7 separate regions of the Homo sapiens genome follow, and regions 1, 2, 3, 4, 6 and 7 are each linked to region 5. Evidence: promoter capture Hi-C in 16 types of primary human blood cells and fetal thymus (Javierre and others, 2016). All regions are on one chromosome and are shown on one strand. Each heading gives the region's core, a stretch centred on a gene start or on the middle of the fragment in contact. The rest is flanking DNA. Distances are from core to core; before and after follow the strand shown.

Region 1 (4,052 bases), core at 215-2,714, 380 kb before region 5:
ACACGAGACCCCAGGTCTGTAGCTGGAACTCAGGAAGGCTATGAGGCAGCAGAGCTGAATCAGTCAACACCTTTGGGGAACACCAGGATCTCACCAAAAATTTAACCACCAACCCCCCCCAAACAAAAATTAGCTGAAACACCCTGGAGAGACTGCAGCCACTGCTGTCATGCAGACATGTCACTAAAAGGTGGCACAACAGCATTTAAGTCCAGCTCTGCTACTCGAGAGTCTGCACCATTAGAGTTTGCTTCCTCATCACAAAATGGAATAATAATGTGATTAACAGTACAGGTTGACCATCCTTAATTAGAAAATCCAAAATCTGAAATTATGAGTGCCAGTGTGAGGCCGAAAATGGAAAATTCCACACCTGACTTCATAGTGGGGGGTGGGGGAGACTGTAGTCAAAACGCAGTCAAAACTTTGTCTCATGCACAAAATTATTCAGACTATTATATAAAATTACCCTCAGGCTATGTGCATAAGGTGCGTGTATATGAAACAAAACAATTTCGTGTTCAGATTTAGGTCCCATCCCCCAAGATATCCATGTATATGTAAATATTCCGAAATCTGAAAAAACCCGAAACACTTCCGGTCCCAACCATTTCGGGTAAGGGATACAGAACCTCTACTGTACAAAACGCAACTCGGACGCACAAGCTCAGGGTAGACCCTGGGCTCTGAGTGCCAAGAATGTTAGTCAGATTGTGGCTGCCGCCGTGTGGCGAGAAAGGGGACAACCGCTCATGGGCCCACAGATCCGGCGCCCTCTCCCGACCCAACTCCCGCCTTCCCGCGTCTGACCCGCCTTCCCGCGTCTGACCCACCTTCCCCGTCGCAGCTGAAGCCATAGGCTTTGATAACCTCCTGCTGGATCTGCGTGGCCACGGGCAGCACGAATTGCAGCATCTTACCCATGTCGTTGCAGGCGTTATCCCGAGCCTCGTCCATGCGCACTGCATTCTCCGGGGCGGAGAACGCCTGGATCACCTCCGCGAGGACCACTGCGCGCCAGAAGCATCCCAGGGAGGCGTCCCGGGTAGGCGTCGGAGAACAGACAGCGGGCCCAGCGGAGAGCGCAAGGAATTAGTGGATTGAGGCTGTAGGTAACCCAATAAGATCCCAAGTCTTGGGGGCAAGCGCCCCACTTAGAAGGACGGTACCCGGCGTCCCCTACCCCATTTTCCCGGCGGACGTAGCCAGGTTTGTCGCCCCACATCCTCCGCCCGCATCCTCCCCAGACCAGCAGCCCATGCCTTGACTACCCCAGGCCAGCAGCCTATGCCTTGACTAGGACGATTCTCACCCTTTGCTTGCTCAGCGCTCAAGGCCGCCGGTTGGGTCGAGGCGGACGCCATAGGGCGTCTGAAGCTCTAGGTTCAGCGGAGGTAAATGGAAAACTCACGAATAAAGAGCCACGTCCTACAACCGTTCCCAACGCCCCTGGGAGCGGAAAGGAAACAGCATCCGGCGCAGCCGGAAGCGCCCAGGCGTGGCCCAAACCTTCATACCCCAAGCTTACAACTGCATCAAGACCACCAAAACTACCCATAATTTTTGCACAGTGAAAACAATCTATCATTGGCAACAAACATCATAAGAGGGGCTTTCCGGTAAAAAGCCAGAAAGCCTACTAGACAAATTCTAAAAGAGCTGTAACACTGCTGCGTATGTGTTTGGAGAGAAGATGGGATATAAAGGAACTCCACAATTGATGAGGGTGAGCTTAGGTGACTTTTTTCTTGTTCCTATTACTGTATAAACAACGACGCATGTGGTAACTTTCAGTAGGAAAAATAATATTCTAAGGAACTTACTTAAGTCATTCATTTCTAGAGTTCGCGAACATTTGTTCTCAGCCCATGCAAATGAGTTCGGTGCTGATTGGTTGAGAAAGCAGCCAGTCACAGCCCCTTCGTTGTTGTTAAGCCCGGAGACCTGGATTCGGCAGTAAAGGCCCAGAGCAAAAGCCGTTGTCGCAGTTTCCTAAAGGCCTTGTCTATTGATGAGCGATGGAGCCTAATGCCCGGCCCGATTTCCCTTCCCTTCCAGGCTTTTATCACCCACTCCCTTCTCAAACTGTAGGTGGTTAAGGATGCCAGGTACTAATCGCCTGGACCTATTAAAACTAGCCCACCCCACCCCCGCTTCATAACCGGCTTTGTTTTTTGTTTTTGAGACGGAGTCTTGCTCTGTCGCCAAGCTGGAGTGCAGCTGGGGGGGATCTTGGCTCACCATAACCTCCACCTCCCGGGTTCAAGCGATTCTCCTGCCTCAACCTCCCAAGTCGCTGGGACGACAGGCGCGCGCCACCATGCCCAGCTAATGTTTTGTTTTTAGTAGAGACAGGGTTTTGCCATGTTGGCCAAGCTGGTCTGGAACTCCTGACCTCGTGATCCGCCCGCCTCGGCCTCCCAAAGTCCTGGGATTACCAGCGTGAGCCGTCGCGCCTGGCCTCATAACCGTTTCTTAAAGTATTCCACGGAAAGGTTTCAGGACTCTGAAGCCCTTGTTCCGGAGGACTCTGGTGGCTCCTAGCAGTGAGACCCGTCTGAATAGATTCCTAGAACTGACCACGTCAGAGGTGGGCCTGTCCCAGGCCTCTAGTGTTTGGTTGGTTGGGGTGTCTTTTGTTTGTTTGTTTTGAGATAGGGCCTTGCTCTGTCACCCAGGCTAGAGTGCAGTGGTGCGATCATGACTCACTGTAGCCTCGACCCCCAAGTGATCCTCCCACCTCAGCCTCCTGAGTAGCTGGGACCACAAGTGCACCACAACCCCCAGCTGATTTTGTCTTAAGATGGGGTTTCTCTATGTTGCCCAAGCTGGTTTCCAACTCCTGGGCTCAAGCAATCCACCCGCGTCTCACAGGCATAAGCCACAGAGCCCAGACCGAGGCCTCCACTGGCGCGCAGCGGTCCTGCCCAGCCTTGGGGCAGGAGGGGGCACCAGCACCCATGGTACCGCCTCCAGCTGAGTCAAGGCTCTGGGCTCTTCAGGGATCCCCTCTCCAATTCTTCCCAGCCCCCACACCCCGTTCCTTAAGAAGGTCTGGTCTCTTCCCGCTTCCCTGCCAGGCCCTGGCTGCAGTTCTCTCTAAGCACCGCTGCACTGAGACCCAGCCTCACCCCCATATCCCGCAAAGAATAGTCACAGCCATGTTCCTGGGGAGTTGTGAGGATGTTTTTGTTTGGTTGGTTTTGGTTGGGATGTTTTTTTAAGAGCGTCATATAGATATTTATATATATAAATTATTAGTGTGGGGAAGGGGCAAGGGGCATACATTGCAGAGGGGGCGCGCACACAGGGATCGGGGAGGGGCAGGGGTGGCACACGATGCTACGCAAAACAGCCACATCTAACAGATGAAATAATCACACCAACGGGGCAGGGGAGGGGCGGCGGCCACAGGGGTTGGGCATGGGGGAGGAGAAAAGCAGGGGGGACAAGGAAGAGAGACCTGGTCCAAGATTCTGTGCGCTTTCTGTCCCCATCCTCGCCACCTCCCCACCTCTGCACACCACATCGGGCCTTGGCCTTCTGTCTGTCCCTCCCTCCCCCACTCTCTGTCCAGCTGCGGAGGCCCTGCAACTGAGCAGCACCCTCTTGGCTCTGGGTGGCAGGCCAAGGGCACGGTGGGGGGAGGGTGGGGGTGCTCCAAGGTCCAATGTAGGAGCCATGGTGCTCTCTTGATCGCAGGTTCTACAGTGGCTTGTCGCTTTCCTTCTTCAGGTGACTAGGGAAGGGGCAGTGCATAGCAGAGAGGTAAGAGACTTGAGACCAACTCTGACCTTGCCCCCTCTTACCGAAGGGGTTGGGAGAGGAGGGGTTCCCTCCCCCAGGAGCACGGTGCCCAGCCGTACCATGCCCACAGCTCCTCCCAGGCTCGCTGAGCCCATGTCCCCTGGGCTGGGGCACCCTAGGGTACCTGTAGTAGTCCTCCTGGGCAGGCAGCGGCACACTGTGCAGCGGGTGATGGGCATGCAGCCACTGCTGCTGTTCCAGCGCCAAGCGCTGCAGCTCAGCTGACTGTGCGTGCATGGCCTGCA
Region 2 (3,665 bases), core at 649-3,148, 470 kb before region 5:
TGGGCAGGTGATCAAAGTCAGCATCAACAGTCATAAATCATGCTAATATGGCCAGCTGCGGTGGCTCACACCTGTAATCCCAACACTTTGGGAGGCCTAGGAGGGTGGATCACGAGGTCAGGAGTTGGAGACCAGCCTGGCCAACCTGGTGAAACCCTGTCTCTACTAAAAACAATACAAAAAAAATTAGCTGGGTGTAGTGGCAGACACCTGTAATCCCAGCTGCTCAGGAGCCTGAGGCAGGAGAATCGTTTGAACCCAGGAGACAGGGGTTGCAGTGAGCCAAGATCGCACCATTGCACTCCAGCCTGGGCGACAGGGTGAGACTCCATTTCAAAAAATAAAAATTAAAAAATAAATAAATAATGGTAATACAATGAGACGAGAATGGCACTTACCTCTGAGATCTTCCTCCCCAAAAGCCATAATCCCTGTATAATCATGAGAAAAACATCTGACAAATTCCAGTAGGGGGCATCCTATAATACTCTTTCCCAGTACTCCTCAAAACTTCGAGGTCATCATAATCAAGGAAGGTCTGAGAAAGTGTAACAGCCAGGAGGAGCCTAGGAGACATGAAAACTAAACGTAATGTGGTATTCTGGAGGAGGCCCTGGAACAGGAAAACGACATTAGGTAAAAACTAAGGGAATCTGAATAAATTATGGACATTAGTTAATAGTAATGTATCAACATCACTTCCATGATTGTAACAAATGTTCCACCCTAATGTAGACATTAATAATGGGGAAACCGTGTAGGAGCTGTATGGGAATTCTCTGTACTATACGCTCAATTTTTCTGTAAATCTAAAACTGCCCTATAAAAATAAAGTCTATTTTTAGAAAGTTATTCCAGCAAGCAGAAGAAAGATGTCAGACATATTTTTTCTATACTCACAAAAGTTAAAGCATGGACTTTTTCAAAAAAAAGATACAAGGGAGAATAACAGATGCATATTTTTAGAGAGAAAAAAGTGATGTGGTAGAACTTAACTGAGAAATTGGAAATAACAGGAAAGCCACCACAAAAATGAAAAGTTCATTATAGAAACAGCAAGAAGTCAAATACATACTATGAAAACATAGATAGTACATGGAGGCCAGTCTTGAAAAAAATCACCCAAAACAAAATGGAAAAGTGCAAAGGGATAAAATCGCAGAGACGCTGATGAAAATGGATCAAGGAGATACATGATTGGTGTTTTGAGAAAAGAATATAACAACTGGAATGGGAAAGTATTCAAAGATATGGTTGAGTATGGGCATGGTGGCTCACGCCTGTAATCCCAGCTCTTTGGGAGGCCAAAGCAGGCAGATTACCTGAGGTCAGGAGTTCAAGATCAGCCTGGCCAACATGGTGAAACCCCATCTCTACTAAAAATACAAAAATTAGCCAGGTGTGGTGGTGCACACCTGTAATCCCAGCTACTCCAGAGGCTGAGACAGGAGAATCGCTTGAACTTGGGAGGCGGAGGTTGCAGTGAGCTGAGATCACGCCACTGCACTCCAGCCTGGGTGACAGAATGAGACTCTGTCACCAAAAAAAAGTATATATATATATTTATATATTTTTATATATATGGTTGAAGATTTCTGTCAAATAAATGAACTGAAATCTTTAGATAAAAGGGCACTCTTACAGGAAAATAATGACAAAGAATCATTAACACTGAAGCCAATCCTGGAGATCCTAAATGACAAGGATAATGTAAAGAATATGGGACAGTGGTTTCCTTCCCCAAGAGTGTGCAGATGCTTGGGTGCAAAGGCCTATTTCTCTTCAGCCCCAGTTCACCCCACAGACCGAGGGCGGGCCTCGCCATCAGGACCCAGTGGCCATGTCCTGATGCAAGCTGCGACGGTCATTGTCCTCCAGAACAGGGATGGAGAAAATACCAGCCCAGGAAGCAGCAGGCTCACCAAGGGTCCGATTTCAGTTTTTGGAGACCCAGTCTGAGAGTCTGACTCCAAAGCCTCATTTTGTGCAGGACACCGACATGGAACAGGGACTCACTAGGGTTCCACCTGTTCCCCAGGTGCCTGCCTTTCCCCATGAGGACAGCCCAGGAGATCAGGCAGCTGCGCTCCTGACAGCCAGGTATCAGCAGTTTGTGACATCTGAGGATGTGGCTGTGCACCTTACTCAAGAGGAATGGAGATACCTGGACCTTGTTCAGAGGGAACTCTACAGAGATGTGAGGTTAGAGAATTATGGGAATGTGGTCCCACCAGGCATACTTCTCCCCCTTCCACCAGATTCATAGTGTGAATTTTTGCCCGGCCCTGAGTCATACCCAGGCAAGTGCTTTCTCTGGAGAAACTTAGTCCTTACAGCAGGAATCTCCAAGAGATGGCCCAAGTATTACCTGCTCAGAAACTCCTTTTCCATGATTGCCAGATATTAAACTTAACTGATGCGATAGATGCCCCCTAGGATGCCACCACTATGTAAAATCGCAGCTCCTCGAATTACCTTTGTTAAATTTCTAGTATCAGAGTCCAAGGAAGCCCCCTGCTGCAACCAGATGCACTTTGAACTCAGTTTATTCAGAAACCATGGTTGGTGGTCATCTTCTACTTGTGTTCTGAGAAACCACAAAATTCAACTTCAGCTCTTCAGTTATGATATTGTCATATTATTTTAGAATGTGAAACATATGCCGTGTGCCCCTCCTTTTATGTAGTGAATACAACCTGCCCCTTATGGTGGTTAACTCCCTGTCACCCCTGGGCTTTCCTCACGTTTAACACTCTGGTTTTCTCCTTCCTGAAGTCCCTGTGGCCCTCTTCAGGGTCCTACCCTCCTCCCCTTTATTCTTTGCAGTTCTGTACAGATTGATGCACTTATATTGCCTTTTCTGATTAAATGTTCCTTAGTCTTTCCTTGATGGAGGGGAGAAGGGAGGACAAAGAAGTTAAATTTTATTTTGGGGCATCAAAACAAATGTCTACTTAGTAACTTTGTAAACTGTAAAGTGATATATATAATTGTGAAGTACTATTAATTTTACCTAATAATTACAGAGTGTTCAACAGTTTAAAAAAAAAAAAAAGAATGCTGGCCAGGTGCAGTGGGTCACGCCTGTAATCCCAGCACTTTGGGAGGCTGAGGCAGGAGGATGGCTTGAGACCAGGAATTCAAGACCAACCTGAGCAACATAATGAGACACTGTCTCTATAAAAAAAAAAGAATAATGTTATAGAAAACCAAACAGAGAAGCCAGGTGCGGTGGCTCAACGCCTGTAATCCCAGCACTTTGGGAGGCCGAGGCAGGCAGATCACGAGGTCAGGAGATCAAGACCATCCTGGCTAACACGGTGAAACCCTGTCTCTACTAAAAATACAAAAAAATTAGCCGGGTGTGGTGGCGGGCGCCTGTAGTCCCAGCTACTCAGGAGGCTGAGGCAGGAGAATGGCGTGAACCTGGGAGGCAGGGCTTGCAGTGAGCCGAGATCGTGCCACTGCACTGCAGCCTGGGCCGGGTGTGGTGGTGCACACCTGTAATCTCAGCTACTCCGGAGCCTGAGGCAGAATTGCTTGAACCAGGGAGGCAGAGATTGCAGGGAGTCAAGATCACGCCATTGCACTCCAGCCTGGGCAACAAGAGCAAGACTCCATCTAAAAAAAAAAAGAAAGAAAAAGAAAGGAAAGAAAGAAAGAGC
Region 3 (3,813 bases), core at 1-2,500, 410 kb before region 5:
ACAGTATTCATAGGATAAACAAATAGCAAATGTACAGCCTTGGCTTCCCCAAACTCCACAGTCTCAGTGCAGAAAGATCATCTTCCAGCAGTCAGCTCAGACCAGGGTCAAAGGATGTGACATCAACAGTTTCTGGTTTCAGAACAGGTTCTACTACTGTCAAATGACCCCCCATACTTCCTCAAAGGCTGTGGTAAGTTTTGCACAGGTGAGGGCAGCAGAAAGGGGGTAGTTACTGATGGACACCATCTTCTCTGTATACTCCACACTGACCTAAGAAAAGAACAGTTTTGTCAGCCAACTCTGTCACTCAGTAGCTGTTTCAGCCCTTCTTTAGGGCAGGAAAACTATGGCTGAGCTAGTATTTCAGCTGTGCTGTTGAATATCAAATCCCTACAAAGGATGAAGAAGGTCCTAACTGTGACTTCCAATTATGGCAGCAGCCCTCAAAGGATGTGCCCTGGGGCAGGGTGTGGAACTGTCATGTGTCTTCTAGCTCATTGTAAGCATTGTTAAAATGCCTACTGCTCTGGGAATTCTATACTAAGTTCAGCTCTACCAAGAATTTCAGGGTTGAGCCCAGACCTTACCTTGCCATGGGCAAAGGCCCCTACCACAAAAACAATAGGATCACTGCTGGGCACCAGCTCACGCACATCACTGACAACCGGGATGGAAAAAGAAGTGCCAACTTTCATACATCCAACTGGAAAGTGATCTGATACTGGATTCTTAATTACCTAAAGTAAAAAAGAGAGAAAAGTCAGCCCCAGAAACATTCCCAGAACCAGCCTTCAACTAACAGGTTTCAATACCTCACCTTCAAAAGCTTCTGGGGGCCATCAGCTGCTCGAACACTGAGCTTGTGTAAAAGTTGAACTAGAAGGGGGAAAAAAGAGTTCAGAGCTAGATGGAGACCACAGTCCTTCTGTCCAGTCATCGAACAAGGAAAACCCCATGGATAAGATGAGTTCCCTGTGTGCTTTATATCTAGACTGGACTCCTGAAATGTTAGGAACAAACAGTTGCCAAGCATATGGCTAGCTGTACAGTGATGGGTTCAGACTCCCTCTTTCACTCAGCCAGGAAGCTACTGCAAGAACAGGAGTGGAGTTTCCACAAACATAGAAAAATAATAACAGTCCTTGTCCTGGTATTAATCATGTTGTTCTCCCATTTTCTCGCTTAAAAATCCACATTTAGTTCTCCCTTTTCCTCTTCCTCCCTTCTTCCCTACTGACAAGTTCATTCTAACTTTGTTCTAAGGCTTCTTACCCATGAGGCCACAAAAGCGGTCAAAGGTTCTGGGAATTCGGGTCTGGGGATTCACTTCAATCAGAACATTCTTCTGTGTATGGATATAAACCTGTAGCAAGCCAGCTCGGTTCAGGGGACTATCCATCAGCATCAGCAAACTCTGAGCAAAGCAGAAACCGAGACATGGTTAAGGCTGAAGAGAGGCAGCACTCAGCTGCCAACCCTTCCATACAGAGGCTCAAAGGGTTGTGAGCACTGTCCCTGGAGTTACCTGGTGGGTGATATCTGGCCGCGCTTCCCCAGGGTCCCGTCCATTCTTCAACAATATAGACTTGTGCTTGTCACAGTTGAGTAGCTCATATGTCTTCCCTACCTGAAGAACAGGGAACATGACGAGAGAACAGCATAAGCTTCTGTTACCTAGCCCCGTGGTTCTTCAAGTGTGGTCCCCAAACTACCAGCAGCAGCTGCACCTGGAAACTTGTTAGGCAAATTCTCAGGCCCACCCTAGACCTACTAAACCAGGAACACTGGGGGTGGAGCCCAGCAAGCCCTTCGGGGGATTACTGTGCAGCCTTATTTGCACTCCCCAGTGAATGGTCTGAGAGGGAAACAGGAGGAAGGGCACAACCTGTGACTTCACATTATCTACTAATACACTGGATTTAATTAAAAAACCTGTGGCTGTTAGGCAAGGCCAATGAGACATCCTGGAACTAGGCAGGAGTTAGTAGTTAGCAAGGCTGAATGCTGTGTTTATTACAGGAGCAGTAAGTAGGTACTGTGCAAAATATCGAGTCACCACCCTCAGTTTGCGTACACCAAACATGCACTAAGTGAAGAGCTGCAAATCTGAACAAGAAATGTGAAGGCCGGGCGTGGTGGCTCACGCCTGTAATCCCAGCACTTTGGGAGGCCGAGGCGGGCAGATCACAAGGTCAGGAGATTGAGACCATCGTGGCTAACACGGTGAAACCCCATCTCTACTAAAAATATAAAAAATTAGCCGGGCATGGTGGCAGGCGCCTGTAGTCCCAGCTACTTGGGAGGCAGAGGCAGGAGAATGGCATGAACCCAGGAGGCGGAGCTTGCAGCGCCACTGCACTCCAGCCCGGGCAACAGAGCGAGACTCCATCTCAAAAAAAAGAAATGTGAAAACTAATGATGCAGGAGGCAGTTTAATCAAAGAAAACTCTCAGAAGTAAAAGGAAGAGGGGTTATTCCCAGTTTTAAGACGGGCATGGGGGCAGATGCAGTGGCTCACGGCTGTAATCCCAGCACTCTGGGAGGCCAAGGCAGGCAAATCACTTAAGGTCAGGAGTTCAAGACCAGCCTGGGCAACATGGCGAAACCCCATCTCTACTAAAAATACAAAAATTAGCTGGGCATGGTGGCACATGCCTGTAGTCCTAGCTACTTGGGAGGCTAAGGTGGGAGGATGGCTTGAGCCCAGGAGACAGAGATTGCAGTGAGCCAAGACTGTACCACTGCACTCCAGCAAGACCCTGTCTCAAAAAAAAGAAAAAAGAAAGACTGGCATGAGCAAAGGTACAGATGGAATCAAGACAAAGTAGCCAGGTGTGGTGGCTTATGCCTGTGATCCCAACACTTTAGGAGGCCGAGGTGGAAGGATCACTTGAGCCCAGGAATTTGAGACCGGCCTGGGCAACACGGTGGGACCCTGTCTCACAAAAAAAAAAAAAAAAATTAGCCAGGCGCAGTGCCATTTGCTGGCAGTCCCAGTTACTCAGGAGGATGAGGTGGGAGGACTGCTTGAGCCAGGGAAGTAGAGGCTGCAGTGAACCATCACACCACTGCACTCTGTTGCCCAGGCAACAGAGCAAGACCCTATCTCAAAAAAGAAACAAAAAAGAAAAAGTGGAAACGAAGAAAGGAAATTTTGAGGAAAATTGGGAGCTGAGACACTAAAGGGCAGTGATTATATATGAAGCTGCTTTGTAAACCACAGAATCCTAATGTATCAAGCACAAAGCCAAAAATAATTCTGGAGTAAGCAGGGCAGGATGGGAATGACTGACAGACACTATCCTAACAACTCTCTGTACACTGGAAAAGACATCAGAAGTTTGATGTTAAAGAAGTGGACTACATCTGTAGCAGCTAAAAGAAATAATTCCAAGTTGCAATTTGGAGTCCCAAGGAGCATTAGGGTGGTCAGTAAAAAGTCTAAAAACAAACTGTTATATACAAATACAAGTTTTGGAAGGTTAAGTTTTTATGTATCACTGGAATGTATATGTCTAGCAACATTCTTGAGATATATGGCTCCAAAAAGTCTGCGAAAAAAGGGATGTAGATTTTGAAATTGAATAGTTGAAGTAATGTCACAGAGAGCACAAAGAACAAATGACCAAGAACTAAGTCCATGAGACACCCTTAGTTATAGAAGAAAAAAACCTTCTTGAATGAATAATACAGTTTCAACCCATTAGTAGGATATAATCATGTTTTCTATTCTTTTAATAGATTACAGGCGCAGGCCTGTAATCCCAGCTACTCTGGAGGCTGAGGCAGGAGAATCGATTGAACCCGGGA
Region 4 (4,080 bases), core at 260-2,759, 360 kb before region 5:
TCTGCCTTCGCCCGGAACCCCACTCACAGCATCCCCCGTTTTCCTCCGCCAACCCCGGCCTCGATGTTCCTCCTCTTTTGAGTCTGCGGGTCCCGGATACCCTCTGGCCCCACAGGCCTCCTCCGGAGACCCTCCCTCCTTCCCCACCTTCCCGATCCTCCCGAAACCCTGGCCCCCGACTCTCCTCGGCGGGCCCCACCCCCTGAGCCCCCGGCCCTCAGGCCAGGCAGAGCCCGCAGTGGGGGGACGGGATTGGGAAAATAACAAATGGAGGCGGCGGCGGCAGGAGGGGGAACTGGGAGGGGTGGGGGTGGGGAGCCGCAGGCCGGAGCCCGGGCGGGACAGAACCCCGCGGGCCCGGGGCCCAGGCGGCCGCAGACCTTACCTGCTGGTAGCTCGGGACGGCTGGCTGGCTCCGAGCGGGATTCCGGGCTCCGGCGCCTCTGGGGGGCGGCGGCGGCAGCTCCCCCGCCCCCCTCTCCTCTTCTCGGCCTCAGTCGCCGCCGCGACGACGGCGGCGGCGGCCCCGACCCCCCCGGAGGGCGGCCCCCATCCCCCCTTTTCCCCGCCTGGCCCCAATCGCCCGCCGGCCCCCGGAGCAAACCCCGATCCCCGCTCTGCTCCCCACCTCCCCGGGCTCGCCGCCTCCCCCTGGCCGCCCGGAATGCCCCGGGCCGCGCCGCCCGCCCCCGCCGCGCCGCCCGGCCCCGCGGCCCGCCCGGCCCTCGGCGCGGTTCCGACCCGCCGCCGCCCGCGCCCGCCTAGCGCAGCCCGCACCCGCGCGATCCCGGGCCCCTCGGCCGCCTCGCCCGCGGCCCCCGCCCCTTCCCCGGCAGTCGGCTCCCTCTCCCCCCTCCTAGCCCCTCCCCGAAGCCGCGGTCCCTCCGAAATGGCCCGGCCCGAGGCCCCGACCCGGCGCGGGGCTGCGGACGGGCTGGGCGGTGCGTCCGGCGACTCGCACAGGAAAGCGGACGGCGAAGGGAGGGAGCCTGGGAGAGGGGGATGGGAGAAGGGAGGAAGAGGGAGAAGGAGGGAGCGCGGAGGAACGGAGGAGAGAGGGGCCAGGAGGGAGACGCGAGGGAGGGAGCGCGAGGCAAGCCGCGAGGGGGGAGAGAGGGGGAGCCGGAGAGGGGGAGGCGCAGCGCGAGTTGGCCGAGGCCGAGGCCGAGGGGGCCGGGGCGCGGGGAGGGCTAGCCGTGGCGGAATGTGGGGAGCCCGCGGGCCCGGCGCGGGAGAGGGCTAGGTAGGAGGGGCTGTGGGTGGTGAGGGCAGATGAGGGGAGGCTGAAGTTTGGGGGCGAGCGGGTCTGTGGCAGAGGTGAAGTGGGAGGAGTTTGGGGGATCCTGGGGTAGAGATTGGGATAATGGGATTGGATTGGAAAGATGGAGCTGCCTGGGGGCTTTGTGGGTGCCTGGTGAGAAGTGAGAGAAGCTTGGGGTGAGGGATCTGTGGCAGAGATGGAGCCAGACGGGTTTGGGGGCTATTATCAGAGAGAATGGGATGGAAGTTTGGGGTCATAAGGAGAGAGAAAAATTGAAAAGATGACATATATAGAAAGATGGGGCTTCTGGAAAAAGTAAAGCTTTTGGGGGTGATTAGTGTTGACAAAAGAGTCATAAATATAAGAATTGGGGGTGGGGGGATGAAGGAATGCTGGAGAGAGAGAAGTCCAGAGGAAACGTCAGTGAGGAGAGAGAGGAGGGAACGCGTGAGGAACCTTAAGAAGGGATGAACGAGGTGGGCCCAGGTGCCAATTCTAGGGAAAATAGGTTCTGGGTGAGAAAGGAGGGCTCTGGATGGGAAAGAAGGGTGGGAGACACCGGGCTGGCTGGATCCTGGGGGTGGGGGCTCCCAGTAGAGCCGAGGAGGGTTTACTTGGGCGGGCAGAATGGGGAAGAGGGGGATAAGAAGATTGGAAGGAAATGTAAGCTGAACAAGGCCTATGGCTGGCGGCAGTATGGAAGAGGAAAGATCATGGATGGGAAAAGAAAATGGAGATGGGGCCGGTGCGGGGGCTCACGCCTGTAATCTCAGCACTTTCGGAGGCTGAGTCGGGTGGGTCACTTGTCAGGAGTTCAAGACCAGCCTGGCCAACATGGCGAAACCCCGTCTCTACTAAAAATACAAAAATTAGCCGGGTGTGGTGGCGCATGCCTGTAATCCCAGCTACTCAGAGGCTGAGGCAGGAGAATCCTTGAACCTGGGAGGCAAAGGTTTCAGCAAGCAGAGATCGCGCCACTGCACTCCAGCCTGGGAGACAGAGCGAGACGCCGTCTCAAAAAAAAAAAGAAAAAATGGAGATGGGAAACGAGGGCAGTTAAAGGAAATGACAGATGTGGGAGCGGGGGGAGGTTGCTGGCAAGCTCATGGGTAGATAGGTAAGGGATACAGCTTGGAGGAGTGAGACACCATCCTCAGGCCTTCCATCTAGTGGCATCTCCATTTTCCTTCTCAAATCTGTTGAAAGTCATCACTAAAGATCCCCTGGGTCACAGGGAAGCAGTCGGGTGAAGACTGGGCTTAATGTGGACCCAAATCCCTGGGTATCCTTGTTGCTCAATCCCACTTGTTCTAAGGTGGAGACAGTCCCCACCACAGACTGCAGGCTCCTCCCAACCCTTCCTCTCCCTCCCCTGCTCTCCAGGTAGCCTCTGGCAGTCAGTCTGCTCCCGGCCGTGAAGCCAGCACCTCCGCCAGCCCACCACCAGTTCCTTCTCCTGGGCTCCCTCCTGGCCCTCCACCAAGCGGCAACATCTCCCAGGACAAAGGACACAGGGTGATTTTTGGCAGCAGAAATTGGGAAGGCCAGAGAATGGGAGGGAGGCAGGCTGGCAAGCCGGAAGAGCTGGAGCTGGAGTGTGGATTAGGAGCCCTCAGTAGAGCTCCAGATTTGGGGTGGGGGTCGGGTACTTGTGGGGCCAGTCTTGCTGGAGGCTAAGGGTGGGCCCTGAATTGGCAAGATCCCACCTGCCTTCAGGGAAGGAAGGAGGTTAGCTCTGGAGCAGCTCAGTAGATTTTTGTCTCACAATTCCTTGGGCCAGATTCAACAAAGTTCTGGGAATACTCAAAAGCTCTAAACAAGATTCCAGAGCACTGGGGAACTGGGCGCAGGAACAGGAACACTTCCTTGGCCTGGGAATGAGTCATCACTCTGAAGTCCCTTGAATTGGTTGGCACTCACTTTACCACTCCAAGCACACCTTCCTCCCAGGGCCTCCCTGAGACCAGGCCAGCTCCCTGTCTCCCTGTGCACCCCGACTCCCTTCCTCTTGCTCTAGGGTAGCTGCTGCTCCTCCCCACCCCTGACTTTGTTCCAGGGCTCCCCCTTTCCCTCTCACCCTCTCTCCCCATGGCATTTCCTCTCTTTCTGTACCACTCAGTTCAGTCTCCCACTGGGCCTTGGCTCAAGCCCTTTCCAAATCCCTTCCAGGCTGAGCTCTTCTCCCTTGTTTTTTAATCACTAAGGAATGGGCTACAATGGATACTAAAAGAAAAATTTAGGCATATGTGGGGATAGGGGATGGTGAGAGTCACAAAAGAAACCATTGTCTACCCTCTCCCATTCCTCCCCTACCTGAGGGCCAGGCTTATAGTCCAGCTGCAGGGGACATCTCTCTCTCTCTCTCTCACACACACACACACACACACACACGCACACGCACACACACAGCCCCAGCCATCCCTCACCCCAGCTCCCTCTCTGGCTCAGCCCCCCACAACCCATTGGTCTCCAGGCAACGGCACAAAGGGAAAGTGGAGAGAAGGGCCTGGGAGGCCCAGGCAGAGCTAGCTGTAACCCAATCCAACCCCGATACTTTGGGGGTTGGGGGGCCAGACTGTCAGAGAAGGCGACCTGGTGAGGAGGGATGAAAGAAAGGACAGAGGCTAGGAACTAGGCTCAAACTAGGATAGTCCTGGTCAGTCTGGGAGTTACTAAGGTAAGATGGGTATCAGGGACCCCAGAGAAAACTGAGAGGCACAGAGGAAAGTACAGGAAACCCCAAGGGAGGCATAAAGGGTCGCCAGGAGAAAAGGGAAAGATGAGATGCCCACACTGAAACTAAAAGGCACAGAAATGGA
Region 5 (4,035 bases), core at 273-2,772:
ATACCTCATACGGTTGTCAAGTTAAACCAGTGAAGTACATGGAACGGTTTTAACACCTAACCACTACCTTAATGTTAGTTTCTAGGAAGGCTGAGGGGGGTTTTCTTGCTAAGTTGTGCAAAATTGGGATGCAATTTGTGGAAGAACACAGCCTCAATCCCACACCCCCGGAGGCCCGACCTAACGTCCTCCAACCTTGAAACCCTTGTAGTTCACCCCTTCTCATGTCCCAGACCAGGTCAGCCTTGCAACCCGTTGTTTCCCAACTAATTGTAGACCCACCTGAAAGCGAGTTCCGGCGAAGAGGCCCCCTGCGAATGAGGTGCAGTGCAGCACCTTAATTGAGGGGCTGAGCAGGGGTCAGCATCAAGGAAGGTGCTGGGAGGGCGGGGCACGGTGGCTCACAGCCTGTAATCTCAGCACAAAGGTGGGGGCAGGAGGATCGCTTAAGCCCAGGAGTTCTAGACCAGCCCTGGCAATATAGTGAGACGCCACCCCCTACAACCCGTCTCTATAAAAAGATTTTTAAAAAAGGGGCAAAGAGGAGGAGGTAAGTGGCATGGAATTCCACGGTTTTTTTTGTTTGTTTGTTTTGAGATGGAGTCTCGCTTTGTTGCCAGGCTGGAGTACAGTGGCGCGATCTCAGCTCACTGCAACCTCCCCCTCCCGGGTTCAAGCGATTCTCCTGCCTCAGCCTCCCGAGTAGCTGGGACTACACGCGTGCGCCAGCCACCATGCCCAACTAATTTTTGTATTTTTAATAGAGACAAGGTTGGCCAAGATGGTCTCGGATTTCTTGACCTCGTGATCCGCCCGCCTCGACCTCCCAAAGTGCTGGGATTACAGGCGTGAGCCACCGAGCCCGGCTGGTTTTTTTGTTTTTTTTTTTTGAGGTGGAGTTTCGCTCTTGGTGAGGCTTAAGTGGCACGATCTCGGCTTACTGCAACCTCCGCCTCCCGGGCTCAAGCAATTCTGCCTCAGCCTCTCGAGTAGCTGGGATTATAGGCGCCCGCCACCACGCCCGGCTAATTTTGTATTTTTAGTAGAAGCAGGGTTTCACCATATTGGCCAGGCTGGTCTCGAACTCCTGACCTCAAGTGATCCACCCACCTCAGCCTCCCAAAGTGCTGGGATTACAGGCGTGAGCCACTGCGCCCAGCCTGGAATTCCGTGATCTTGACGCTGGACTAGGGCAGTGGATGCGAGGGAGAGGGCTCCAATGTCGGGCCCTGGTTCGAGGAGAAGGTGCGGCTTTCACCCAACAGAAACCGGCCGTGAGGCTAAAAGCCAACTCCATGAGGGAAGGTCGGTCAAGCTCAATGGTTTCGTCACATTGCTCCCTCCACCCGCCGCGGGTGTAAGCTGCGCGTCTCCTTCGAATTGCCCCCTACTCGCCGCCGCCGGCTCCGCTGGCGTTCCCAGGGCGAGCGTAAGTTCCGGGTGCGGCGGCCGACTAGGCGCAACAGGAAGAGGCGGGGCCGCGAGGCTAGCGCTACCCGTGCGCCTGCGTGGAACGATTCTGTGGCGAGTGCCGGCCGAAAGCTAGGTCCGGATTGCACGTGGAGGGCCGCCCGAAGGGCACTCTCGGACATTAACCCGCATTCTGGTGGGTCTAGAGGAAATTGGGGGACGAAGAGTGGCAGCACTGACCTGGTCTGGGACGTGGGGAGAAGGGTGCGCTACCTGGGTTTCAGGTGGGAGGGCGTTCGGTCGGGCCTCCAGGGGGATAGCGGGGGTGCTTGAGTCGCGGGTGCTGAGTCGGGAGTGCTGAGTGAGTTGCGGGTGCTGAGTTGAGGCTGTGCCCTTTCCCACTATAATACGCCAAGCGTGCGTTCTGCCGTTCCCTCCGACACGCGCGACGCCACCTTCTCCCATTTCTGCCTGCCACAGTACCATGGGGCGCAAGTTGGACCCTACGAAGGAGAAGCGGGGGCCAGGCCGAAAGGCCCGGAAGCAGAAGGGTGCCGAGACAGAACTCGTCAGATTCTTGCCTGCAGGTAAGGATTAGTTGTGGCCTCCTGATCCCTCAGCTTTTGCAGTATTCTGTATTATAACCTCTTCTCTTTTTTAGTTTCTGTTCATTTTATATTTAAGTGGAATCTTCTCTGTATGAGTTACTAGGAGGTATGAATGAAACAGCCGTTTAGATTGTAGGGAACTGTTTAGGTCGTAGAGATGTGAAGACACGGACACAACTATTATTCATGCAAGGGAAAAGTGTGATTTAAAACAATTGTGAGTTCAGAGGAAGGGGGAGCCCATGCAGAACTGTAAAAGTTTTTGTTAAGCTGGGTTTTGAAAAATGGGTAACATTGTAGCAAGAGGAAGTAGTGAAGGGGAGGGGTCAGTCACTGATTTGCCTTTTGGAAGGGGTGGAAATGGAAAAGCACGGATCTGGCTGCTTCATGCCGAGTAGTAGTATACTGTGTGGAAGACTGGTGGGAGGTAACACTGGACCGGGAGTTTGTGTTGGGCATTGGATAAAGGATGCAGTTTATTGAGATAGTAGGAAGTCCTGGGCACTGTATTAAACTTGTTGGTCATGTTATATCGCTTAATCATCTTAGAGTCCTGTGAGAGAGGCACTATTAAGGAAACACTTTGGGAGGCCGAGGCAGGTGGATCACCTGAGGTCCAGTGTTCGAGACCAGCCTGGCCAACATGGTGAAACCCTGTCTTTACTAAAAATACAACAATTAGCTGGGTGTGGTGATGGGAGGCTGAGGCAATAGAATCGCTTGAATCTGGGAGAAGGAGGTTGCAGTGAGTTGAGATCACGCCATTGCACTCCAGCCTGGAAGACAAGAGTGAAACTCCATTTCAAAAAAAAAAAAGAAACTTGTATACAGTTATTAAATAATAACAGGGCTGAGATTTAAATGGACTCCTTTTAATTAGTGTACTAATTCTCTTACCATGTTTATTTCCGTTCCCATTTATTTTTAATGTCCCCTGTAACTTGTTCTGCCTCGTTTTTCTTTTTTAAACAGTAAGTGACGAAAATTCCAAGAGGCTGTCTAGTCGTGCTCGAAAGAGGTAAGTGTGGGTGTCAAAACTTAAGTAGGTTAAATTGGTACTGCTCATCTTTGACCACAGAGTTAATTCTAGACTCTCACATTTCCCTATGGTGGAAATGGCAGAGCCTGGAAGTATCTTCCCATTTCTTCACTCCTTGAATCTCTTGTGTCTTTTCAGGGCAGCCAAGAGGAGATTGGGCTCTGTTGAAGCCCCTAAGACAAATAAGTCTCCTGAGGCCAAACCATTGCCTGGAAAGCTACCAAAAGGTCCGTGAAACTAAGAGCTGGATGCTACATGAGGAGTCCCTTTGGGTCCTGGGTAGGGAAGAACTCGCTAAACATTTCCGGAGTGAAAGGAACAGCCAAAGGACATTCTGAGGGGTAGAAAGTACAGGCTCCCAGGGTGTGGGGCCAGGGAATGTGTGGCTGCCATTAGTCCAGGACTCTTCAAACCCTTAGGGATCTCTGCAGGAGCTGTCCAGACAGCTGGTAAGAAGGGACCCCAGTCCCTATTTAATGCTCCTCGAGGCAAGAAGCGCCCAGCACCTGGCAGTGATGAGGAAGAGGAGGAGGAAGACTCTGAAGAAGATGGTATGGTGAACCACGGGGACCTCTGGGGCTCCGAGGACGATGCTGATACGGTAGATGACTATGGAGCTGACTCCAACTCTGAGGATGAGGAGGAAGGTGAAGCGGTGAGATTCATCTTTTTGGGCATTCATAGAAGGATCCTTGCTATTTAGTTTCTTTCCCAGATTCTTGAGACTGTTTCTTAGTGGCAAGGATAAGCCTGACTAGAGGAAAGGGGTTTTTGTGCTCCATCACTGTTTCCCTACTGCCTTATATCCTCCCAGTGCACTACAAGTTTGAAAGAGCTGTAGGATAGAGCATTTAAAAAAATCTAGAAGGCTGTCTTGGTGTAGGTATGGGAAGGTGGACAATGGTGTGCTCCACTGATGGGCACAGAAATGCACTTTTTATAAAGCAGTTATCTCAGAACTTTGAAAAATTTGTTCCT
Region 6 (3,989 bases), core at 959-3,458, 440 kb before region 5:
TGTATTGTAACCTAGAAACCAGTAGCCTTTCAGCAGTGGAGTTCCTGGTTCTTGAACCCAGCTCTCTCAGGGAACTGGGATACTGGAGGAAATCCTTGCTGGAGGTACCAAGAAAGCCTGTAGTCCAAAATGATTTCTGGTTCACTTTCCACTGATTAGATTAATTCAGGTTAAAAACACCTCCCTAAATGCAAATACCCCAAGGGAAGAGTTAGGTATATCATTCACATTTTCAAGTGTACGTTTTAATCAGATAGTCTAATTACTATTTTCTTAACATCTTACTTTTTTTACTTCAGTTCTGTGTGCTGATCTTGGGGTGGAATGCAGAGCATTAAAGCACTGGCTTTTAAACCTTTTTGACTAAGATCCATCGTAAGAAATATGTTTTACATTGTGACCCAGAACACACAGACTTGTATGTGTATACACGTATTTGAAACAAGTTTCAGGAAAGAATACTTGCCCTTAATAATAACTCACTAAGTTGATTTCATGACTTGTTAATGAGTTACAACAGTTTGAAAAATCTTGAGTTAGAGGCTGCAATTTTTTTTTTTTTTTTTTTTTTGAGACGGAGTCTCGCTCTGTCACCCACACTGGAGTGCAGTGGCTCGATGTCGGCTCATTGCAACCTCCGCCTCCCAGGTTCAAGCAGTTCTCCTCCTCAGCCTCCTGAGTAGCTAGGACTATGGTGCACGCCATCATACCCGGCTAATTTTTGTGTTTTTAGTAGAGACGGGGTTTCACCATGTTGGCTAGGATGGTCTCAATCTACTGACGTCGTGATCCACCTGCCTCGGCCTCCCAAAGTGCTGGAATTACAGGCGTGAAATTACAGGCATGAGCCACCGCGCCCAGCCGAGGCTGCAATTTTTAATATTCAATACTTCAAAGAAAAAGTAAGCTTATGTGGACTGCTGCACTGGAGTATTTTGAGCAGTCAGAAGACTGTAAAAGGAGTGTGTTTATGTTTGTGTGGTGTATGCTTGCAAGGAGTTTGATGGAAGGATGCTGAAGAGGAATTTTGCCATGAGCCCTGGTGCTGGCAAATACTACCAGAAAACATCTCCCCTTCAACAGCTTGGATCTCATCACTCCTTAATGTAACTAATACCATGAATTGCTCATATAAATTCAGTAACATGCACCTACTACAGGTAAAGCAGTATTCTTAACCCTGCAAGGGCAGGAGCAGTGGGTGTAGTATGAGTCAGGAGCCCTGCACTCAAAGGTATTATGGTCTGTTAGGGTATAGGAAATGGGCCTGAGATAAGTATACTAATAACCCCAATAAATTTTAAGCACCATAAGAGAGGTACAGAGCTTTGTGAGATTTAAAGATGGGACATTTCATTTAAAGATGAGTAAGGTTTCAGCATGCTGAGATGGTAAGACTTAAGGAATAGCATGAGCAGAGGCACTGAGGTGTGAATGTGGCAACACAGCCAAGGAACAGTCAGTAGTCTAGTGTGACTAAAACAGGACTTTAAAGAAGTGATGGAAAATCAGGCTGGAACTGTAGGTTAAAGAGCCTTTAAAGCCAAGGTAAAGAGTTAGTACTCACGTAGGTGATAGGGAACATTGGAGATTTTTGAGTGGGGAATAATATGGCTGGAGCTGTATTTAAAAAGATAATACAGCCTGGGGTGATTTGAAGTCAGCATAGACAAGTAGTAGGGAAACTAAGGAGAAAGAAGTGATCTAGAGAGGAAGTTATAATGACTTGGAGGCAGGGTGGCTGTGCTGAGAGGAGAAAGTGGGCATCTCCTGTGAGATGGTCTAGGAATACCGGAACCTTTTGAAAGGTAGATTCTGTAGACACAGTCATCTACACAGCTGCTCATGCCTGAAACCCAAGAATCAGCTTTGTTGCCTTTCTTCACTCACTCCCCACATCCCAGTCACCCAATCCTATCAATACAACCTCTGGATTGTGTCTCAGATCCATCTACTATTCTCCATCACCACAGCCACTAACCATCTGTCACCAGCACCACCCAAGTAGCCTCCTGACTAGTCTCTAATTCTGTTCTTGCCCCCTCAGTCCACTCTCCAAAAGCAGCCAGAGTGATCCGATCCTGTGCCTCTCCTGCTCAGAACCCTTCAGGGGCTTCCATACCTGGCTGGTAAGCCCCTGCCTGCTGCCCCAGCCTCGTCCCAAGCAAGCTGACAACCTTTTAGCCACATGGCCTTTGTTCAGTTCCTCAGGAAAGGCATGAAGGCTTCCCTACCTCAGAGCCTTTGCACACGCTTACCTGCTGCCTGGAGTGCCCTTCAGTCACCTGACAAACTCCTTTTCATCTTCCTCTGAGTTCTTTCCTGACTCTCATGTTCAATTATGTCCCCTGTTACACTTTCTCATACTGACCGGAATTTCCTTCCAAGTATATATTACACTTTGTAATTATATATTTGTAGATGAGGACAGAAACCATGGAAGTTTTGTTTACCACAGTGTACCCAGAGTTTAACACATTACTTGGCTTGTAGAAAAGGCTCGATAAATACTTGAATAGGTGAATGTATGAATGAATGACTTGGCAACTTATTAGCTGGAGGATAAAGTCGTAATTTTAAAAAGACTCCATCCTCCTGCCTGAGTAGCTGGAAAGATAAGGGTATCTTTGACCAATGCCAGAGATCAAGTGGAGGATCAGATACTCTTAAGTGCCAGGAAATGATCTGGTTTGGGGTTCACTTTAGGTTCCAAGGGCACTTCCAGGTATCTTGGGAGTTGTGAAGCCTGGTCTTGAGCTCAGGAAAGAAGCTGGGCTAAAGACAGAGTTTTAGGAGACAGTATTGGTATCATAACTGACTCAGGGAGGGAATGAAATGCCATGGAAAAGGTTATACAGAGAAGAGGATCTTATTCACGTTGATTGGGTATGTTAATGTTGCTACCCCTTGATAATAGTAATAGCTGGCATTTATTAAGGATTTTCTGTGTACCAGACATTGTCCTAAATGGTCAACAGGCAGTTCCCCACCTAAACCTGCCAGTTACCCGTGAGGTAATTATAGTGCTGTTAAGATCTCCTGGTACAGATAGGAAAGTCAGCCCTACAAAGATTGAGTAAGTCACACTGAGTTCTGCCTGACTCCAGAGTTCCTGCTCTTTACCGCTGAGATTGGGAGGAGCATGTGGGGCTGGAAAAGATAAATGCCCTTGGTGTCCTTTTCTCTTTTCACTCTCAGTGGTTAAACCAAGATGCAATCAGTATATGAGCCACCTCTCAGTGTCCAAAGCTAGAGCTGGCCAAATGGAGCAGATGGCCACCCTGCTTACTGTGAGTGTTCCCTAGTCTTGGCCATGATGGTGGCTTGGCTGTTAGACTGATCAAAAATTGCAGCTGGGGGTAACAATTCATCCCTCAGAGGTTCAGAATTAGCATCACTAAAGTTAGCGACCTTTAAAATCAAAGGAGGTCCTGCAGTTTAGTTCCCTTTGGACCAAAGTCAGGTCTGGCCCTTCAGAAAAAAATCCATTATTCAGTGCAGAAAGCTTTCTTCAGGTAGCACTGGAATCACAATATAAAGAGACCAAAGGTAAGCTAGATGAAAATTAAGCAGCATTAATGAAACAAAGAGACTTCTGACCATAATACAAAGCAGGGTCCAAAAATTCTACTGCTATAAAATAGGGAGACTGTCCTAAATGACTTTCAAGGACCCTTCCAATTTTAAAAGTCTAGGTATATTACTTCTACATGTTTAGACTTTATTCTAGTTCATAGCCACAAATTTCATCATAATCTAAACCTTCCCGTTTGGGAATTTCTTTTTCTTTCTTTCTTTTTTTTTTTTTTTTTTTTTGAGACATGGTGTTACTCTGTCATTCAGGCTGGAGTGCAGTGGTGCAATCTCAGCTCACTGCAACGTCTGCTTCCCAGATCAAGCAATTCTCTAGCCTCAGCCTCCTGAGTAGCTGGAACTACAGGCGTGAGCCACCATGCCTGGCTAATTTTTTCTGTATTTTTTGTAGAAAC
Region 7 (4,035 bases), core at 1,346-3,845, 500 kb before region 5:
CTAAACATCCCGCTTTGCCGATGTCATAAGCTGGCTCATGGGAGAGCTCAGTTAAACGGAGGCAGTGTGTGAATCACTGAGTCCAGATGCACTAATGCCTCACACTATCCACAGTGCGACCCACAGCCCCCCTGGAGGCAGGGGTCCCCTTTGCACCTCCCAACTCGGCACATGAGGCCGGTGCCCAATCAAGAGCCAGTGCTGGAAACCCTTTTCTCACACAGATGGTGGAGGAGGAAAGATTTCTGCCTTCTTCAGATGCCCAGATCAAACTTTAATCACCTTCTTTACTGGAGTCCTAGTTGCACCTGAGTCCCTCCTAGTAAACCACAGGTCAGCCTAGGAAGTAGAGAGGGGTCCCTTCTTTGGCCCTGACCTCTCACTCCCAGTGACTGGTGCCATTACCATTCAGTTATACTAATAACTGAATTCAAGTGAAGCTGCTTACTTAAATCCCTTACTAGACAGCCTGGAGGGACTCCAAGTTGAGCACAATGGGCTGTGAACTTAGACAGACCTGGGCTCAAAGCCTGCCTTTGCCACTTGCTAACTCTGTGAACTTGCACCCCACCCATTCACATTTGACATTGGTCAGATAAGACCAATGACACCTAGCTCACAGGGCTGTTATACGGACACGAATGAGATAATAAATGCAACAAATCAGCTCAGTCTTCAGCTTTCAGTACCACCCAGGATGGTTATTATCCTATTGGATTTGCCTCAGCCTTCTGCTACCCAACTCTTATCTTCCTCATTCTTTGAATTCCTCTATATCTTGCTGCCCTATAAACTTTTAATATAATAACTAGGCTATTTAGCTAGACTTGTTTCTGAGTGTTGATTACTCACACACTCTCAGCTTTCAGGCCCTGTTTTTAGCAGTTCTGTATCTTCTCACTGCAGCTACATTACCAGACACCAACTGTCGCTGGCTGACGTTTCTATTTCCTTCCAGTTGGCCTGGCTTCAGTGCGGCTGAGGAGGTTCCCCACGGCCCTGGCAGCCCACGGCACAGTGATACTGCCACCTCACTGAGCTGGACTCTGGCAGGTCACTGTTCAGTCCTTTCCCAAGAGGATTACAGTTGCTTTCAGAAGGTGACTCCCAGTCACCCATGGCTATCATCTCTCCCCAAGCCTCAGCCCTCCTTACCTGGAACACATTTCGGCAGCTCCGGGCCCAGCACCTCATTCACCCAGCTCCCGTTACCAGCACAGTGATACTCCCCTGGAATAGCACAGAGAACACAGGCCACACTCACCACCACATCTTCCTTCTTCCATTCCCCCCTCCGACCCCAACACCCTGCCCCGTTCCTTCAGAACCTCAGCTCGTCTAGGATTCAAGTAGTAAATCAGATTAAATCAGCCAGAAAAAAAATATCTTCCTCCAAACAATCCCTCAGGCCTCTAGCCTGCCAGGGAGACAAAGGGAACATCTCCAAAGCAGAAGGAAAGAAGGCATCGGGAAAGTGGCGAAATAAATACAGAGCAATGCAGAGAACGTATTAGGGTCTCATTCAGCCCTGCACCTAGCATGACCAAAGCCTCTACATCAAGAAAGCCAGTCAGTGTAGTTTGGTGGCTTAAAGCTGAAGGCATTGCTCCTGTGGGTTTTACATGAAATAACTGGTCAAAAGGTGGGTAATCCCATGAAATGGATGTTGTAGGGGAATTCCTGCTGCAGCTGTGAACTCAGTTGGTGACCTCTATGATTCCCTGAGGCTGATGCTCCCCTGAACTTGCCCTGCTCCAGATGAAAACTGTATCTTTGGACGAAGCCAAGGGGATGAACAATGTCTGTCCTATCGCCTTCATTTGTCTCCAAACTCTGTCTCTGGCACAGATTATGCTATCCACCCTCCAACACCTTCTCACTCTCTCTCTCTCTTCTCCAGTAGAAGAAACCTACCACCTCCTCCATTTTCCATGTAGTAATATGGCTCCTCACAAGTGTAGCGGATGACAGAACCAAACAAAGTGCTCTCTGGGTCTTCAACTTTACCATTCTCAATGGATTCAGGAATGCCACAGTCCACAGCTACCAGACGAAGGAAGGAGAGCGATGGTCAGGACAGCCACTTCCTCCAAGGAAGAGTCATGGGGCCAGGTTCATCCTCACTGCTTCCCCACCCCATATCCACAGGCACACCTGGGATGAACCTCCCCACACCAGCCTCTCTGTGGCCATCCTCCCCAACTGGCATCTCTCAGCTCTCTCACCCGCTGAGATGCCAATTCAGATGGCCCCATGAAAGCCGTAGTGAAGAGCCTGGTTCTCAGTGGTTGGTGAAGGCCCAGTGGAAGCCACAAATGCACCCACGTGGGGCTACTAACTCGACCTATCCCATAGCCCCTTTCTTGGAAAGAAACATGCCGATCTAGTTGGCCTGGGACCAGATGCGGGGCTGGGACTAGAAAAGCTTCCATGACTGGCTTCCCTTCAAAAACCCAACCCACTCCCTCACATGCCTAAGAGGAAACCATGCATTTGAATTTTGATGTGCTGATCTTTCCATTCTCTCTGAGAGAAAAAGAAAGACTTCCACTTTGAAGAGACACATACGTTGACATTTCAGTTTGGAATTACTCCACTTTCCATTGCTTTGACAAGTCGAATAGAAAGATGTTGCACCAACACGTCCCTGGAGAATAATAAACATCACCACTTATTTCTGAAGAGAGATATGGGAAACCAAAATCAAAACTGGAATTGATCTCTGGCCTTGGATCAATGAGGAGTCCTCACCACAAGAAGCTTGGGAACATCTTAGCAGACCTAAAGCACCCAGGAGATGAGGCTGACAGAAAGCTTTGCCCCAACGTGTCAACTCCCCTTCCTCAAGAAGACTGAAGGCAGAGAGAATGCCAAGCTGGCCAGGCAGCTCCATGACTCACAAGGGAGAACTACAGATCTTAAGCTGTTGTGTTTATGGGAAAGGTGTTATACCTTGATCACACACATACATTGGGTAAACAACTGGACAATTTCAGTCCGCTCATCCTGATCTGGGGCCAGGGACTGGGGAGAAGCCAAGGTGGTACTTTACCTCCACAACTTCAAACCCATCCAGACAGGTTATCTGCACCACATCTCTAAAGACATATTTTGCCTTCGCAGGCTCCCAAACAGAATTGGGAGTGTCTTCCTTAGGGCAGGGCATTGCTTGAAAGAACAGAAGTTGGGACAGGAGGAAAAAATTACTAAATAGTTGAAGACTCTCATTCTATTTACATCATTCTCACACTTTCTAAAATCGTCCAGTTGTCCTCAATCCTGATGCTTAACATTCCAATACAGCAGATGTCTAAAATCATATGGCATTACCAACTAACCACCCGCAAGCTGTCTGCAGTCTCAGGTCTAGTTAAAGGATTACTAGAGGTTGAGGCATTTCTAGCAACCGTTGACTGGTTTAGATTTTCCTGAAGAAGTGAAGTATCTCAGGATTCTATCAGAACAACAATCTATCTGTTTTTTAAATTATTGTTGCTTTGTTTTTGTTTTGTTTTAGAGACAAGGTTTTGCTCTGTTGCCCAGAGTGGACTCAAACTCCTACTTCCTGGGCTCAAGGGATCCTCCTGCCTCAGCCTCCCTCGGTAGCTGAGATCACAGGTGCTTCCAGTGTGCCTGGATCATCTACCTGCTTTGATCCCACATTGTTTGGGGACTTTGGTATCACCAACCAAAGAGGCACTTCTAAGTTACTCACGATCTCCATGATAGCGAAGTTTCCAGCCCTTTTTTTGCCCTGTTAGATCAGTTTGGAAGATGATATCAAGAGCATTACTCTTGGTTTCAATATTTAGAGGCCCAGGGAATCCATGACCACAGTAAGGACCAAATTGCCGATCTCCTGCAACAAACTGAACAAAATGATGAAATCAGAAGAGGGAAAGAACTAAAGGGAAGAGGTAAAATTGGGAAGTGGGAGATACAAATAAAAGAGGCATTAAATGTCACATAAAATAAGAAGAAAATAAGGGTCAGGAGAAAAGATAATTTTATCTTCAGGCTGAGTGCAGTGGCTCA

What was found. The method cuts DNA at HindIII sites, captures the fragments that hold promoters and counts their contacts. A CHiCAGO score of 5 or more calls a contact.
Region 1: the fragment with the promoter of C12orf57 here is called in contact with the fragment with the promoter of NOP2 in region 5 in 1 of 17 cell types (activated CD4 T cells); the score reaches 5.1 in activated CD4 T cells.
Region 2: a fragment that was not itself captured here is called in contact with the fragment with the promoter of NOP2 in region 5 in 2 of 17 cell types (non-activated CD4 T cells and activated CD4 T cells); the score reaches 5.7 in non-activated CD4 T cells.
Region 3: a contact is called between a fragment that was not itself captured here and the fragment with the promoter of NOP2 in region 5, in 8 of 17 cell types (non-activated CD4 T cells, activated CD4 T cells, total CD8 T cells and 5 more). The highest score is 13.8, in non-activated CD4 T cells.
Region 4: a fragment that was not itself captured here is called in contact with the fragment with the promoter of NOP2 in region 5 in 10 of 17 cell types (non-activated CD4 T cells, activated CD4 T cells, naive B cells and 7 more); the score reaches 19.5 in non-activated CD4 T cells.
Region 6: a contact is called between a fragment that was not itself captured here and the fragment with the promoter of NOP2 in region 5, in 7 of 17 cell types (activated CD4 T cells, total CD4 T cells, non-activated CD4 T cells and 4 more). The highest score is 12.1, in activated CD4 T cells.
Region 7: a fragment that was not itself captured here is called in contact with the fragment with the promoter of NOP2 in region 5 in 5 of 17 cell types (activated CD4 T cells, non-activated CD4 T cells, total CD8 T cells and 2 more); the score reaches 11.3 in activated CD4 T cells.

The regions. Positions count from the first base shown.
Region 1 is chr12:6,941,434-6,945,485 of GRCh38, reverse strand. It overlaps C12orf57 (chromosome 12 open reading frame 57), which reads right to left and starts at 1,464. Exons shown (of 3, transcript NM_138425.4): 1 at 1,313-1,464; 2 at 834-1,010. The coding sequence starts at 1,364. RNU7-1 (RNA, U7 small nuclear 1) reads right to left here and starts at 1,670; the gene lies at 1,608-1,670. ATN1 (atrophin 1) reads right to left here. Exons shown (of 10, transcript NM_001940.4): 9 at 3,932-4,052; 10 at 3,165-3,739. The coding sequence ends at 3,706. RefSeq lists enhancers at 1-247, 808-957, 497-1,076, 968-1,087, 1,388-1,577 and 1 more and a silencer at 915-1,174. The HindIII fragment of the contact is 10,579 bases long and covers 1-1,525 here.
Region 2 is chr12:7,039,862-7,043,526 of GRCh38, reverse strand. It overlaps the pseudogene LOC100419825. Among named protein-coding and RNA genes, the nearest start is that of C1S, 19 kb to the left of the region's middle. The HindIII fragment of the contact is 6,449 bases long and covers 1-3,665 here.
Region 3 is chr12:6,972,156-6,975,968 of GRCh38, reverse strand. EMG1 (EMG1 N1-specific pseudouridine methyltransferase) reads right to left here. Exons shown (of 6, transcript NM_006331.8): 2 at 1,529-1,630; 3 at 1,276-1,417; 4 at 821-879; 5 at 591-740; 6 at 1-273. The coding sequence ends at 160. Among named protein-coding and RNA genes, the nearest start is that of EMG1, 3.1 kb to the right of the region's middle. The HindIII fragment of the contact is 838 bases long and covers 832-1,669 here.
Region 4 is chr12:6,924,690-6,928,769 of GRCh38, reverse strand. It overlaps ATN1 (atrophin 1), which reads right to left and starts at 811. Exons shown (of 10, transcript NM_001940.4): 1 at 386-811. LOC124902868 (a long non-coding RNA gene) reads left to right here and starts at 1,074. Exons shown (of 2, transcript XR_007063194.1): 1 at 1,074-1,243; 2 at 2,645-4,080. RefSeq lists silencers at 813-972, 1,153-1,202 and enhancers at 2,227-2,926, 3,627-4,080. The HindIII fragment of the contact is 151 bases long and covers 1,434-1,584 here.
Region 5 is chr12:6,565,778-6,569,812 of GRCh38, reverse strand. It overlaps NOP2 (NOP2 nucleolar protein), which reads left to right and starts at 1,522. Exons shown (of 16, transcript NM_001258308.2): 1 at 1,522-1,606; 2 at 1,891-1,997; 3 at 2,991-3,036; 4 at 3,196-3,284; 5 at 3,477-3,712. The coding sequence starts at 1,895. It overlaps CHD4-AS1 (CHD4 antisense RNA 1), which reads right to left and starts at 1,442. Exons shown (of 3, transcript NR_199067.1): 1 at 283-1,442. RefSeq lists enhancers at 1,178-1,227, 1,051-1,672. The HindIII fragment of the contact is 18,468 bases long and covers 1-4,035 here.
Region 6 is chr12:7,011,475-7,015,463 of GRCh38, reverse strand. All of the region lies in intron 1 of LPCAT3 (lysophosphatidylcholine acyltransferase 3), which reads left to right. Among named protein-coding and RNA genes, the nearest start is that of LPCAT3, 5.0 kb to the left of the region's middle. The HindIII fragment of the contact is 2,598 bases long and covers 910-3,507 here.
Region 7 is chr12:7,065,651-7,069,685 of GRCh38, reverse strand. It overlaps C1S (complement C1s), which reads right to left. Exons shown (of 12, transcript NM_001734.5): 7 at 3,716-3,869; 8 at 3,053-3,168; 9 at 2,569-2,647; 10 at 1,915-2,043; 11 at 1,156-1,230. Among named protein-coding and RNA genes, the nearest start is that of C1S, 7.0 kb to the right of the region's middle. The HindIII fragment of the contact is 335 bases long and covers 2,428-2,762 here.